3 separate regions of the Homo sapiens genome follow, and all the other regions are linked to region 1. The links are contacts of gene promoters, found by promoter capture Hi-C in blood cells and fetal thymus (Javierre and others, 2016). All regions are on one chromosome and are shown on one strand. Each heading gives the region's core, a stretch centred on a gene start or on the middle of the fragment in contact. The rest is flanking DNA. Distances are from core to core; before and after follow the strand shown.

What was found. The method cuts DNA at HindIII sites, captures the fragments that hold promoters and counts their contacts. A CHiCAGO score of 5 or more calls a contact.
Region 2: the fragment with the promoter of KLHL29 here is called in contact with the fragment with the promoter of LDAH in region 1 in 1 of 17 cell types (M2 macrophages); the score reaches 5.5 in M2 macrophages.
Region 3: a contact is called between a fragment that was not itself captured here and the fragment with the promoter of LDAH in region 1, in 2 of 17 cell types (activated CD4 T cells and non-activated CD4 T cells). The highest score is 5.5, in activated CD4 T cells.

The regions. Positions count from the first base shown.
Region 1 is chr2:20,820,715-20,825,766 of GRCh38, reverse strand. LDAH (lipid droplet associated hydrolase) reads left to right here and starts at 2,666. Exons shown (of 7, transcript NM_021925.4): 1 at 2,666-2,730. RefSeq lists enhancers at 2,483-2,872, 3,093-3,162, 2,965-3,790. The HindIII fragment of the contact is 14,255 bases long and covers 1-5,052 here.
Region 2 is chr2:23,383,159-23,388,210 of GRCh38, reverse strand. It overlaps KLHL29 (kelch like family member 29), which reads right to left and starts at 3,032. Exons shown (of 14, transcript NM_052920.2): 1 at 2,431-3,032. LINC02923 (long intergenic non-protein coding RNA 2923) reads left to right here and starts at 893. Exons shown (of 6, transcript NR_187213.1): 1 at 893-5,052. RefSeq lists silencers at 1,146-1,195, 1,366-1,535, 1,556-1,675, 1,916-2,775, 2,946-3,295 and 1 more and an enhancer at 4,799-5,052. The HindIII fragment of the contact is 11,520 bases long and covers 1-5,052 here.
Region 3 is chr2:18,551,051-18,556,102 of GRCh38, reverse strand. NT5C1B-RDH14 (NT5C1B-RDH14 readthrough) reads left to right here. Exons shown (of 11, transcript NM_001199104.2): 11 at 295-1,380. The coding sequence ends at 319. It overlaps RDH14 (retinol dehydrogenase 14), which reads left to right. Exons shown (of 2, transcript NM_020905.4): 2 at 295-1,380. The coding sequence ends at 912. Among named protein-coding and RNA genes, the nearest start is that of RDH14, 7.1 kb to the left of the region's middle. The HindIII fragment of the contact is 3,937 bases long and covers 545-4,481 here.

The DNA of each region.
Region 1 (5,052 bases), core at 1,417-3,916:
CAGGGCACTCTCCACCAAAAGATGAAAATAAAAAAAAATCTTGACTTCCTTAAAGAAAATTCCAGACATCTAGCTAGTCCTAAAAACAAAAACAAAAACAAAACAAACTTAAAAGCAAGAAGATAATAAGAGCTTAAAACAATAGCCAAAAAATTAATGTCACGGGATATTGTATTTCCTATAAAAACTAAAGGTAACATCTTAACATATGTCCCAAGTTGTTTTTCAGAAACCCAGATCCCCACTAAATGGATCCACTGGCACACAGGCCTCAAATAAGGGAGAATTGAAGGCTAAACTCTGACTACTATTCTTTGTTCTAAATTTCTTCTTGAGGTGCTTAAAGGAGGCCATGCCCATGAGCCCAAGCTAATATCCTTTTCTGCTGATATCAAATTTTTAGAGAGTTTCACCTTCTTAACAAATCACAAATCAGAAAATCCTTAAATTCCACCTATGACCTGTGGGCCCCCCTCTTTGAGATGCCCCGCCAATGCACGGCAGGCAAGCCCCAAATTGGGGATTTGCCCAGTAGAGTTCTTAGCTTCGCCAAGAAAGAATTCAAGGGTGAGCCGGTGGTGTTAAATAGCAACTTTTACTGAAGTAGTAGTGTCCAGAAGCAGCAGAGATACTGCTCCTTGCAGAGCAGGGCTACCCCATAGGCAGTGTGTCCAGAGTAGCATCTGAAAGGCAGTTCTTCTGTCATATTTATAATCATTTTTAATTACAGGCAAATTAAGGGGTGAATTATGCAGAAATTTCTAGGAAAAGGGTGGTAACCTCTGGGTTGTCAGGTTGTTGCCATGGAAAGGGGCATTAATATGGAAAGCTGCTTCCTCCCTGCCCCTGTTTTAGCTAGTCCTCAATTTGGTCTGGTGTCCAATTCCTGCATCCTACCTCACTGCATTTTTAGGTTAAGCCAATATATAACCTCCATATATTGATTTATGACTTTGCCTATAACCTCTGACACCCCTGCATTTAAAAACCCTTACCTATAAACAATTAGGGAGTTCAAGACTTAAGCACTAACTGACCAGTTCTCCTTGCTTGGGACCCTACAATAAATGCCTCACTTTCTTTCACTATAATCCTGATGTCAGTGTTTGGTCTTGCTGCACAGGCAATTGGACTCCAGTTTGGTTTGATAACAGCTCTTGAGAGATTGGAAAAGAGAGAGTCCCTGAGAGAGTGGGTTGTTTTCCACCTCCTGTTTGGTCTGTTTTCACATGTATCAGCTTCCCCTTTGACCTTCTACCATGTTGTGACACTGCACAAAAAACTCTAACCAGAACTGAGCAGATGCTCACACTATGCCCCTTGAGCTTTCCAATGTGCAGAACCATGAGCTAAGTAAACCTCTTTTTTAAATCCAAGCATACTTTGAAGATATTGGGGGTTCAGTTCCATACTACCACAATAAAGCAAACATCACAATAAGGCAGTTCACAGAATTTTTTTGGTTTCCCAGTGCATATAAAATTTATATTTACACTGTACTGTAGATTATTGTGTACAACAGTATTATGTCTAAAAAAAGTACATACTAAGAAAAGAAAAATAGCCCAGAGCTGTCTGAGCTATGTGAGGTATGCAAAATTTATTAGACCCGGACAGAAGTGAATACTGGCTTCCGCCACGCCTTCCCATGCCTTAGGGCAATTGTTAAAGGCATTTTGTTCTTTATTAGCTGCCTCACCCATTATCTTTATGTTCCTGGAATTTGTGATACAAGGAAGAAAGCATAGCCAGTCAATAGCTTAAGTTTTTTAAATATAAATTCTTGGTAAACAAGTTAAGCTCTGCCTCCTCTCCTTTCCTTAAAAACCGGCTCACGCCTGTAATCCCAGCACTTTGGGAGGCCGAGGCGGGTGGATCATGAGGTCAGGAGATCGAGACCATCCTGGCTAACAAGGTGAAACCCCGTCTCTACTAAAAATACAAAAAATTAGCCGGGCGCGGTGGCGGGCGCCTGTAGTCCCAGCTACTCGGGAGGCTGAGGCAGGAGAATGGCGTGAACCCGGGAAGCGGAGCTTTCAGTGAGCCGAGATTGCGCCACTGCGGTCCGCAGTCCGGCCTGGGCGACAGAGCAAGACTCCGTCTCAAAAAAAAAAAAAAAAAAAAAAAAAAACCTACTCCGACTGCTGCTAATTGGAGTGTATATTCAAGGCAACTTGAATCTAAGCTCCTGAGTGGCCATTCTCAAGCACTGAGCCCAAATAAACTCTATACTTAATATTATTCTCTGAATTTTCTTAAAGTTGGCAACACCTTAATTAAAAAAATACTTTATTGATCATGCTTATGAACATGATCAAATGAGAATCAACTTTCCTGTGTATGTGGGGAAGATATGCAACTAGTAACGCAGAAAGAGGGAAATGGGAAGAGGGAGAAAAGAGGGGCAGACATGGAACAAATGAGAGAGAAGGAAAGGGAAGCCAGAAGCCAGAAGCACATCAAGGATGACAGAAAATAAAAGGCGGATAAAATTCAAATGAAAAAGAAAGGAAAACCCCGACACCCTCCAAGAGGTCTCTCTGATCTGGACCACCGGCTCCAAGCCAGTAAGAAATCTCCCAGCCAGCTGTGCGCCGCGCGCCAGGCTGACATCGGCTTCCCGGATCAGCTCCGGCGCGGTACTGTGACGTCACCTGAGGGGGGCACTTCCGGTCTCGTGCCGCCTTCCCAGGACCCTCAGGGAGAGCGGGCAGCCTTCCAGGTGGACAGGTGAGGTACAGCTTGCCGAGCTCAGGGTGACTGCCCAAAGGAAGGACGGGTGGGCAGGCACGCGGGATCTGGCGCCCCTTCTTCTCTATGGTTCCTCGCAGAGCCCCTGTTGCCCTGGGCCAGATGGCCCGTAGCAGCAAAAATAATACTGTTCCGACAGCTCGCGAGTTCGGAGCCACTTGGCCTGGGAGTCCCTTGAGTTGCAGGCCGGGCAGTCGCTCACCCGAGCGCGGTAATGCAGCATTTGAACCCCTAAGTGTAGCCCACCTGTAGGGAGTCTTATGGTGCCCCCGCGGAGGAGTAGAGGCCAAAAAGTTGGGCAGCTGGCCGGGAAGAACTCGCTAGGAGGGGTCAAACTCTGGGCCGGGAGTGTTCTTTGCCCCCGGCGTTTAGTGCTCACGCCGCCTTTTATTCACGCTGAAGACCTTAACCGTAAACCCTCATCCTTGGGTCTTAGTTTGGTTTTGTTCCCCACGCAAGACAGAATGCAGATTGGAACACTTTATTCCTTGGTTAATTCGTATCTTCCCTCGCAAGTAGTTACCGGACACCTGCTTTGTGTCCTGTGTACCAAACACAAGAGTTGATAGTCCTGGCCGGGCGCCGTGGCTCACGCCTGTAATCCCAGCACTTTGGGACCCCGAGGCGGGCGGATCAGGAGGTCAGGAGATCGAGACCATCCTGGCTAACACGGTGAAACCCCATCTTTACTAAAAATACAAAAATAAATACATAAATAAATAAATTAGCCGGGCGTGGTGGCGGGCGCCTGTAGTCCCAGCTACTCGGGAGACTGAAGCAGGAGAATGGCGTGAACCCGGGAGGTGGAGCTTGCAGTGAGCCGAGATGGCGCCACTGCACTCTAGCCTGGGCGACAAAGTGAGACTCAGTCTCAAAAAAAAAAAAAGAGTTGATAGTCCTTGAGTTGAAAGAACAAATCTGTATGGAGAAAGAGATACAACCAAAAGAAACCCAGAAGATTTAGAAGCATCTCCAGAATGTTTATTCTCAAAAGCTGTTTTTTAATTAAACTTCTTTCTGAAACTATACGTAGGAGTGTCTCTTGTGTGTTTCCCCATTTTTCCACCTGAAGGTTAAAGACTTAGAAACCTGCTAAGGCCCCTCTTTCCAGCATGTAGCATTCTAGGGGGATAATCAGGGCAACACAGTGGGTGCCCATCTAAAATTTTATATTTTAATATTTTGCTTTTTGATAACTTAATGCCTTCAGACTGGAGGATTTTTTCTTTCTTTTTTTTAATTTTTTTAAAATTATACTTTAAGTTCTAGGGTACATATGCACAACGTGCAGGTTTGTTACATATGTATACATGTGCCATGTTGGTGTGCTGCACCCATTAACTTGTCATTTACATTAGGTATATCTCCTAATGCTATCCCTCCCCACTCACCCCACCCCACAACAGGCCCCGGTGTGTGATCTCCCCCTTCCTGTGTCCAAGTGTTCTCATTGTTCAATTCCCACCTATGAGTGAGAACATGTGGTGTTTGGTTTTTTGTCCTTGCGATAGTTTGCTGAGAATGATGGTTTCCAGCTTCATCCATGTCCCTACAAAGGACATGAACTCATTCTTTTTTATGGCTGCATAGTATCCCATGGTGTATATGTGCCACATTTTCTTAATCCAGTCTATCATTGTTGGACGTTTGGGTTGGTTCCAAGTCTTTGCTATTGTAAGTAGTGCTGCAATAAACATACATGTGCATGTGTCTTTATAGCAGCATGATTTATATTCCTTTGGGTATATACCCAGTAATGGGATGGCTGGGTCAAATGGTATTTCTAGTTCTAGATCCCTGAGGAATCGCCACACTGACTTCCACAATGGTTGAGCTAGTTTACAGTCCCACCAACAGTGTAAAAGTGTTCCTGTTTCTCCACATCTTCTCCAGCACCTGTTGTTTCCTGACTTTTTAATGATCACCATTCTAACTGCTGTGAGAAGATGTCTCATTGTAGTTTTGATTTGCATTTCTCTGATGGCCAGTGATGATGAGCATTTTTTCATGTGTTTTTTGTCTGCATAAATGTCTTCTTTTGAGAAGTGTCTGTTCATATCCTTCACCCACTTTTTGATGGGGTTGTTTGTTTTTTTCTTGTAAATTTGTTTGAGTTCTTTGTAGATTCTGGATATTAGCCCTTTGTCAGATGAGTAGGTTGCAAAAATTTTCTCCCATTCTGTAGGTTGCCTGTTCACTCTGATGGTAGTTTCTTTTGCTGTGCAGAAGCTCTTTAGTTAAATTAGATCCCATTTGTCAATTTTGGCTTTTGTTGCCATTGCTTTTGGTGTTTTAGACATG
Region 2 (5,052 bases), core at 1,783-4,282, 2.6 Mb before region 1:
TCTTGCTTGTCTCCCACACTGAGTACTTGAAGTATGACCACCACTCATTAGAAACATAATTAAAAAGACACAACACTAGATCCCCACCCCCCATCACATTCAGATGAAAACCAATAACCCTTAATCTATTTGTTACCATGGCTACCATAGGATATTTTATTTCAGTAAAACTCTAGGTATTTCGTTTGGATTGCTGCTTGCAAATGAAAGTTGGAGACCTATAAATTTCCATAACCGAGAGACCGAGGAGAAGAAAATGTTTTTCTTAATCACAGGCAAATATGGTTTATAAGATGTTTGTGCAGAAAAGTTATTAAAATTGGTTAGATGCATCAGCCCATAAACCAATTTAAATGCCATTAAATTCATATAGAGTTTAAAAGGCACATGTGCTAGTAATTCCCTGATTTATAGCAGGGTGATAAATCAAGTGCACTCCAGCACAATGTATGGGACGGAGACTATTCATCAGTAGCACACAGCTCCATACCTGTATAAACACCTAGATTATGGACTAATCAAATACACGCATGCCAACCAGCCTTTAAAGTATTCACTAGTGCTTACTGGACATGTTTTCTCTAAGTGTCGGAAAGAACAATCTATAAAATTGTTCATTCTCCTCCCTCACAAAAAAATTAAAAAGCTCTATACCTTCTTTCCATAATAATAATAATAATAATAATAATAATAATAATAATAATAAATCAGGAATGAGGTGGGACAAGTCTGCTGTCATTCATCTGAAAATGAAGCAATTCCTCAAATCTGCCCTCCCAGGGCTGAGTTAGTGATAAGACCACACGGCGAGGAAGAAACTCTGTAGTGACTAGACAGATGACTTTAAAGAGACTGAAACTAGTATAAATACAGCCGTAACCAGGACAGATCTGTCATTGCAAGAGGAGTCCGAATCCCAGCGTTGCTGGACTGGAGAGAGGCTGGAACCTGCAGCAGCGGGCCGGGATGCCGCTGAGCTGCCGAAGTGGAAGTTTCGCAGGCAGCAGCAGCTCGGCGTCCTCCACGGTCTGGTCCCTCCAGCGCCGAGGTCTCGCCTAATGCTACATAAATACCTGCGTCCACGATTCGCCCGGGGCGCGCCGCGGCGCAAGCACGGGAGGGAGGGAGGAGAACGTTTGCAGAGCGGCGGGGATGGCAGCGGCGGCGGCGGCAGCTCCTTACCCATCAGCATCTCTGGGGGCCCGCGCGAGGGCCCGCCAACGGACCGCGTCTGCCGCTTGGTTCCACAGCCCAGGGACGACAACTGGCTTCTCAGCGGGTGGACCCAGGCATCCGAGACTCGCGCGTGGCCGCCACCCCCTCCTCCGAGACGGCTGGCCGCAGGCAGGCAGCGCGTCCCCGCCTTCCCCAGGCAACGCAGAGGCGACCTGCCCTAAGAGCCACCTCCGACCTACCCCGGCTCCCAGCCCCGCGCTCCGGCCCCAGGCGAGCACGTCCCTCCCTTGGGGCCCGGGGCCGACGCTGCCCAGCGCGGGCACCCGCGCGGCGACCGCAGATAACCCTAGCGCTCTCAGCCCGCTCCAGGCCACGGAGACCGGGACGCGAGCCCTGGGCTCCCCCGGCCCCCCGAGGCCATCGGGGCGCGCGTTCACACTCCCACACTACACATCTCCAGGTCCACCCTGTCCCACACATCAACAACCCCTCCCCAACGACACCACCTCCTGGCCGCTTCGCCGTCCCCGTGAGCTCTCCTTTCCGCGTCCCCCCACAACACGCTGGCACCCACAAGGTGTCAAGGGAAGTGTGCGTGTGTGTGTCGGGGTGGGGTGGGTCACAATAAGGTCTGTGCGGGTTCCCTCCCGACGGTTTTCGAGCTCATCTACCTCGAAAGTTACTTGGGATTGAGTAAAGAGACCCAGTCCCCAAATGCGAGATCAGAGGACGCGAGGGGCAGAAAACCCCAACCTGGCTTCTCGCTGCACAGAGGCGCGCACCTCCCCAAAGGACAGTGCGCGCGGCCGCCCCTGGGGGCCAGCCCTCCGTCGCCTCCAGGTCTCCTGCCCGGCCGGGGCCCTGGGCCGCTCAGGGGAACGTGGCCTGGAGAGGGGCGCGCGCCGCCGGGCCCAGCAGGGGGGCTGCTCCGGCCAGGGGTCACACAAGCCTCCAGCACCTCCGAACACCGTGACAGTGGCCCCAGGCAGCCCCGGTGCATACACACCCGGGGGCAGGAAGTTTTTTCCCCCCCTTTTTTTCCCCCTGGAGCAGCGCAGGCGCAAGGGCTCCTGCAGCCTGCGAGTCCAGACGCGGGAGGCTCCTGTCGCCGCCGCCGCCGCCGAAGCCGAGCCCAGGGTTCCGGGTTCCGGCCCCGCTCCCACGCCCGGCCCGGCCCGGCCCCACGCGGCGGCCAGGACCTGGGTCTCCCTCCGGCGCCGCATCCGAGGCGCTCCAGCCCGGCCCGGCTCTTACCTCCGGCGCGCGGCTCCGGCCCCGGCCCGACGCGCAGAGAGCCCGGGGTCGCGGGTGGGCGCAGGAGGGCTGATGGAGAGCGGACAGCGCCGGCGGGTAGCGGTGGCTGGGGCCGCTCGGGTCCTGGCCGGAGGAAACGGATCCAGGTCCTCCTCCTCGCGTTCCTGCTCTCCGCCTTCTCCCCTCGTTCCTCCTCCTCCTCCGCCGCCGCCGCCTCCCGGCAGCCCAGGGAGGATGCCCGGGAGAGGGAAGTCGGTCCTCCTGCCTGTCAGCCTGTGCGGCTATGAGCGGTGCGGCGCGGCTCTCATCGAGGCGGCGGCGGCGGCGGCGGCTCCGGCAGCATCGCCCCCGCCCTCTCCCCGCAGCCGCGGCGGCCGCGGGGCTGGGGCTGGCTCCGGGCTCGCGGCTCGGGCTCCGGGCGGGGGCTGCGCTCAAGCGCGGCGACCGCCGGGGCTGCGGACGGGCGCTGCGGAGCCGGGGCCGGGGCTGGAGCTGCGGCGAGATCCGCGGTGGCGGGGACGGCGGCGGCGGCGCGGGGGCTGGCGCGGCCGCGGCGCGGGGACCATGCTCCCTTCTGGCTCGCTCCGCTCCGGGTACCGTCTGCTTTAGCTGCGAGGGAGGCGGGCTTCGGCGCGCAGCCAGGGGCGGGCGGAGCCAATCACGGGCGCCCGAGTGGGCGGGGGTGGCGGGTGGGGGAGGCGGGGCCCTCTGGCCCGGCCCGGCCAGGCCGGGCCCCGTGCGCAGTTTCCCCGGCCCGAGGGATTCCCGGCTGCCGCGCGCCGGGTCCGAGGTTGGAGTGCTCGCGGGTGTGTCCGTCGGTCCGTCCGTCCGCCGCCCCCGCCCCCCGCGGTGGCCCCCGGCTCGCCTGGCTCCGCGGCCGCGCCCGGCAGACGCACGGCGCGTGGCACGGGCTGCTCCGCCGTGGCCTCCTGGCCTTGCTGGCCCAGGGTTGGGGGCCCGGGACTGAGGCGAGCTCCCCGTCTGCTCTCAACACCTGAGGAAACTGGCGGAAAAGTTTGAGAAGGAAAAAGTCCAATCGTCTTTCAGCTTCCGCCCTCTTTATGACACTCCAGCCTTGGAAAGGAGCAGGAATTGTCCACACCTCTGAAGGACCAGGGAGAGCCCTGCAAAGTGTCCACCAGCCTTCTGAGTCAGCCCTGCCTCTCCTGGGGCGCGCGACTTTTCTGTTCATACTGACCCTTAGGAATCCAGGAAGCCTTCTCTGTTTAACAGCCTGACCAGCCTTTGATGTCTATACCGACTACTCACCCCCACCACAGCTCGCTCTCTCTCACACTGTCTACACTGACTTCTCAGTCCCACCACCTCTCGGTCTACACATGCTGTCTACACAGACCCTAACTTCTAACCCTAATAGAAGAGATTTGGCCAGAGGCGTGTGGGACCCCCAATGAGGGCTTTTCCATTATGCTAGAATATTTCACTCTGGGCACAGTCTTCTCCACCCCGACCGCTCTCCTAATCTGGTTTTTATTCCCCGACCTCTCCCTCCTCCCCTACATCCCCTTTACCTGGTTTTGAGTTTCAGAGGAAATATCTGTACCTGCCCTCCTCCTCCACCCCTGTCTGAATGTAAAGGCCTGAGGGCCCAATCCTCATCCTCCACCCTCCCTCCGCTCCCCCGGGTAAAGGCCTGAGGCCTGAGGCCTTGCTAGAAATTGGAGTTGGGGTGCTGTAGGTAGTGTGGGGAGCTGGCTGTGGGGGCCCAGCTGGGAGGAGCTGGCCTGGGGAGGGCTTTGCCAGTCCTTGCCTCCATCTACCAGGGCCAAGGAGGACTGAGCCGGTAAATATTTTCTTCTCAGCTCCCCCCCTGTGATGTCTGATCCAGGCCTCTGCTCTCCTTGGCTGTAAACTCAGCGCACGGATTGTGTCTTCTTTAATATTTTGTAGGAAGCAGAGTACAGTGTCGTGGCTGATAAATAATAAATAATAATAATCTACTGAGGGTAGCAGGAGCACTGTCAGAAATGGAATGAGGACGCCGGGGAAATGGCCCACTAGTGTCAGAATAACTGCATTTCCTGGAAAAAACATCCAACAGAGTTTGTGTGTGTGAAGCCCGGGACTCAAGGGAGGGGACAGAGCGGAGCACTTCAGGGAGGAAGCCACCCTTCATGAGGACGACAGCCAGGAAAACTGGCGTGACCTTAAGAGAGGGTGACAGAGGTGCCGAAAAGGGGAGCAGGAGTGGGGGGGAGGGGGAGAAAAGCTCCCCAAGGGTCCTCAGACAACACCTGAAGGTGATCGATAGCTTTGGTTTGAGTACTATGTCCTTCAAATGGTATATGAAAAGTGATAGAAGAGTACTAGATAGCAAAATGGAAAAAAGAGGGATTTCTTGGGATTTCAAATTGATACACAGGTCAACCCAATGCAAAAAGAAGGAGAACAAAGCCACAGGCGTGTGTCTGTTCATCCACGCTGTAGGAAGCTGTCCTCTGAGATAATCTCCATGGATGCACTGACTGTGAACATGCAGAAGTCCACCCAGCCGTATTCTGGAGTAGCGCCCTATGTGACAGCTGTAGGCACTACAGAAATGTGGCCAAGGTTTGCAGGGTCTGGGATAGGTTAAGATCTGGCAATGTGAGGCACTCACAG
Region 3 (5,052 bases), core at 1,264-3,763, 2.3 Mb after region 1:
AATATCTTTCTGTATATCATTTTAATAAATGAGAAAAAAGAGCTGTTGAATGAAAGATCATGAACATCAGTATTTATCTGAGGAACATCCTGCGGAGGAATCCCTTTCCCCATTTATTAAACACAAAATTGCCAGTGTTTCAAGTAGTTCTCTGATCGATAGACCAACAACTGAAATTAAATGCTTTTAGTCTCAAGTGCCCATTTTTATTAAAATGTAATTATCATGAACAGAAAAAGCAATACAAGGCGTGTGTTCTTAATAATTCTGCCATTCTCTTTTTGACATTTAAAGGAAGAGCCTAGGCTGGATGTCTTGATCAATAACGCAGGGATCTTCCAGTGCCCTTACATGAAGACTGAAGATGGGTTTGAGATGCAGTTCGGAGTGAACCATCTGGGGCACTTTCTACTCACCAATCTTCTCCTTGGACTCCTCAAAAGTTCAGCTCCCAGCAGGATTGTGGTAGTTTCTTCCAAACTTTATAAATACGGAGACATCAATTTTGATGACTTGAACAGTGAACAAAGCTATAATAAAAGCTTTTGTTATAGCCGGAGCAAACTGGCTAACATTCTTTTTACCAGGGAACTAGCCCGCCGCTTAGAAGGCACAAATGTCACCGTCAATGTGTTGCATCCTGGTATTGTACGGACAAATCTGGGGAGGCACATACACATTCCACTGTTGGTCAAACCACTCTTCAATTTGGTGTCATGGGCTTTTTTCAAAACTCCAGTAGAAGGTGCCCAGACTTCCATTTATTTGGCCTCTTCACCTGAGGTAGAAGGAGTGTCAGGAAGATACTTTGGGGATTGTAAAGAGGAAGAACTGTTGCCCAAAGCTATGGATGAATCTGTTGCAAGAAAACTCTGGGATATCAGTGAAGTGATGGTTGGCCTGCTAAAATAGGAACAAGGAGTAAAAGAGCTGTTTATAAAACTGCATATCAGTTATATCTGTGATCAGGAATGGTGTGGATTGAGAACTTGTTACTTGAAGAAAAAGAATTTTGATATTGGAATAGCCTGCTAAGAGGTACATGTGGGTATTTTGGAGTTACTGAAAAATTATTTTTGGGATAAGAGAATTTCAGCAAAGATGTTTTAAATATATATAGTAAGTATAATGAATAATAAGTACAATGAAAAATACAATTATATTGTAAAATTATAACTGGGCAAGCATGGATGACATATTAATATTTGTCAGAATTAAGTGACTCAAAGTGCTATCGAGAGGTTTTTCAAGTATCTTTGAGTTTCATGGCCAAAGTGTTAACTAGTTTTACTACAATGTTTGGTGTTTGTGTGGAAATTATCTGCCTGGTGTGTGCACACAAGTCTTACTTGGAATAAATTTACTGGTACAAATTCTTAACTGTGCATTTCTTTGGAGGCTTCACTGAATACAGTCCTTTATCATGTCACCATTAGCCTATGCTGATCTTGGTCTGCCCAGTCTCTTCTTGCCACGTATCTTGTACACTGCTCTGAGAGATAATATTCCTAAAACCCAAATCTATCACATTCCTGCTTAAAAAACAGTGGGTTTTGAGCCTTAAAAAAAAAAAAATTTGGCAGAATTCTTTCTTCAAAAGCGGTGTTTCACTGAAACGTAGAAGCTGGAGGGGGTAAAGCAGGTTATCGCAATGCTGCCAAGGTGGAGTCCCCCACGGCAATTCCTAAAGGGATTTCATAGAATATAGTGGTTTATAAACCACTTTTATTTAGACTAAAGATTAAACTGTTGAAGATAGAGTTGAGGCTCCATGAGACAGCACCATGCTTACCCTATACTCTCATACTCAGCACTGTTCAGTAGAACTTTGCAGTGAGGAAAGGAATACTCTGTGTTGTCTGATGTGATGGACTCTAGAAACATGGGATTATTAAGTACTTCAAATTCAACTGAGAACTGAATTTCTAATTATATGTAATGTTAATTTAAATAGGCACATGTCTAGCAACTGGTATCTTGGACAGTACATCTCTGGTCATCCCATCAGATAATCCAGTCCTGATTTTAGAACAGTCACCTACTCACTTGCTTTGGGCCTTTCTTTATATTGTTCTTTCAGTCTGGAATGCCATCTCCTTTTTCCTTGGAAATACGACTTACCCTTCAGGTTCCTTTCAAATGTGTTCCTTTCTCCAGCCCCCGTAGGCAGAGACAATTCTCTCTTCCTACTTTTTTTTTCCCCCTTGATCTTGGTACTTTTACTAGGAGTTTAGTGCACTAATTATTCATTCACAGGTTCAGTCAGATAATCAGAATAGAAATTCTCTAAGGAAAGGAGATTTATTTTATTATTAGCTTTCCTCCATCAAGAATCAAGTATAGTGCCCAGCACACAGTAAAAAATCAGTAAATAATGGTATGCATAAGAATAATTGAGCCCAAATAGGAATATTGCAGGCATCTGTGTTACAACATCAAAAGTATCTACTTAATTTTAATTATTTGTTTCACTATCTCATATCGGAAAAAGGAATTATAACACTAAAGTATAGACAGTTACACTGAATTTAATGACTATTTAGCCCAGGGATAATTCTTGGTTATTATTTTTAAGACCATTTATAATATCAGCTTATGAGTATCGGTTATTTTCAAGAATGGCAGGATCTTGGCATATCATGCAGAAGGTCTGTTTTCTGTTAGAGCATTGCCTTGTGAATTGGAGAAACAGTGTATCATCACAGGTGTGTCTCTGCAGGTGTAGTGGATATAGCTGCATCATATTCTTTGAAACATTGTATTTTTAAAAAGTAATCCTACAAAGAGACCTGCTGAACTTAGAAATATAGGCAGGAAATACACCAGAATGCAACTTGGAAAAATGGAAGCTAATAAATCTGTCCTACACCTCGACTTCATTAAAAGGGAGCCCCTTTTTTTCATTTAATACCATCTTTTCTGGCTGCATTTTGATACTTGATGCTTTTCAGGGGATTTGGACCTTTTGTAAGAGTTGAGCCTTTCAGAGTTCTTTTGTTTGTGGCACCATAATAAAATAGGATATATTAACTTATCATGATAGAAAGCTAGAAACTTACCTGGAAACACCAACTATTAAGGTAAAATGAGCTGCCATTTGGAAGATGTCCTTCGCACCACTGTGTTTGATGGAATTGAGGACTAAGAGCTCCAAAATGATGAGGTAGATTTTGAAGAAGTCCTTAACTTCCCCTCCTTCTTTCTCCCTTTTGCTGACTCACTTTAATCCATTTTACTGGGCAAAGAAATAAGTAAAAGGCAGTCCTGTTATTTTGGTATTGTTCTCACCCTCAGCAGTATATCAGAGGGGAAACTGTAATGTGCCAGATCATGGAAGAAATGAGTTGAAAGCCCATTTTCCATGCTGGTTCTCAGCTTCATTTTTTTTGAAAAATTGACTCGTGTTTCAAGCAGCTTATTCTGAGAAGGGTTGAGGTTGCTGGCCTTCTGTTTCAACTTTGCTCAGAGTAACTATTTTATATAGTGGGGTTCTAAGTAGGATTTAATTGGACAAGGGGCTTCACAGCTTAAACACACCACCACATTGGGTTTGACTAACAGCTCTACTGTGTAATGCTTCCTGTAACCTTGGCAAGTTACTTAACCTTTCCGAGCTATTATTTTTTTTGGCTCTATATTGAAATATAAGTGTCTACTTTAAAGGATTACTCAGTGAATGAAAGAGACAGACTAGGTAAAATGTTTAGCAAAGTGTCTGGCACATACAGGCACACATCCATTTCTCCTTCCACAATGCACATAATCATTACTATCCATTAGCAGTAATAGTAATTAGCGATGCTAATGGTTAGGCAAGTACATATCATGGAAACAAAACTCTAAACCAAGGGGCAGCAAACTTCATCTAAAAGGCCAGATTTCTTTTTATAATCTTTCAAAAATGTAAAGACCATTTGTAGCCAGTACATACCATACTATTGTACTTAAATGACTGGTACAGTCTTCCAGGCCCAATGTACTCACTTACTTGTTTACCTTTAAGACACCTTGTTTGAGAGTAGTTGTCGTATATGCTGTGACTCCTATTACTCTATAAGGCTGCTGTTGTTTTTCCATATTATTTCTAATGTTGTGGACAACTATTTGCTTGCAGACCAGGAAGCCTAAAGGGTATATTTTAAAAGTCTGTCTCCAGCTATAGATTCTGGTGTGAGGAAGAGCAGTTATCTGCCTTCAACTCCCTCCCCCTGACAAACTTGCTGGGCCTGGCCAGAGATCTGAGGGACTCTGTATTTGAATATTTAATTGATTCCAAATGTCCTATGGAACACTGAAGAGAGAACATGTTACTAATCACCCTTCAGGAGCTTGGCCCCCACAGACAGGTTCAGATGTTCCACAAGCCTTCTCTGGGCGATGGGGAGTTAAATTAGTTACAGGCTAACATGGAGAAAGGTAGTTTATTCCTAGAGGAAACTAAGACGGAATGCTTAGTTTTATGCAGACAGTAAGGAAAAGCTTTTGCTAAGCCAGATGTGTAATCAAAGTGCAGTGGAAGCACTTTTAAGCAACTACCATCTAAGAGATTTGCTGTAATAACTGATTCTCCATTCTTTTTTTCTAAAAAAAAAAAAAAAAACTAATGCACATAGCATGTGAAACTCTAGGCTGATAGGCTTTCTTCTAGCACACAACAGCCCTTCTGCTTCCTCTTGTTCTATTATATACTTAAGAGTGAGTTGTGTACCATTTGTTATTCACTTAGCAAATATTTATTGAGTACCTATTATGTAACCGGGCATTATTCTAGTTCTGGGCATGCAGGAGGCAACAAAGAAAACCCAACCCAATTTGTGCATGCATATGTCAACTGTGCTGGTTAATAATCACATTACAAATTATTAATCATACTGCAAGTCAATGAAATGTGAGTACAAAGAATTTATATGAAAAGTAGAAAAGTAGTTTTGTAAAAACTAAATGAAAGCAAGTCACTAAAAATTTACTGTTGACTAAAGTTTCAAAGCAACTATCAAATACTAAAAATAAATACAAAATTATAAAAGGAGTCTGTAGTTAGTGCTTTGCAAG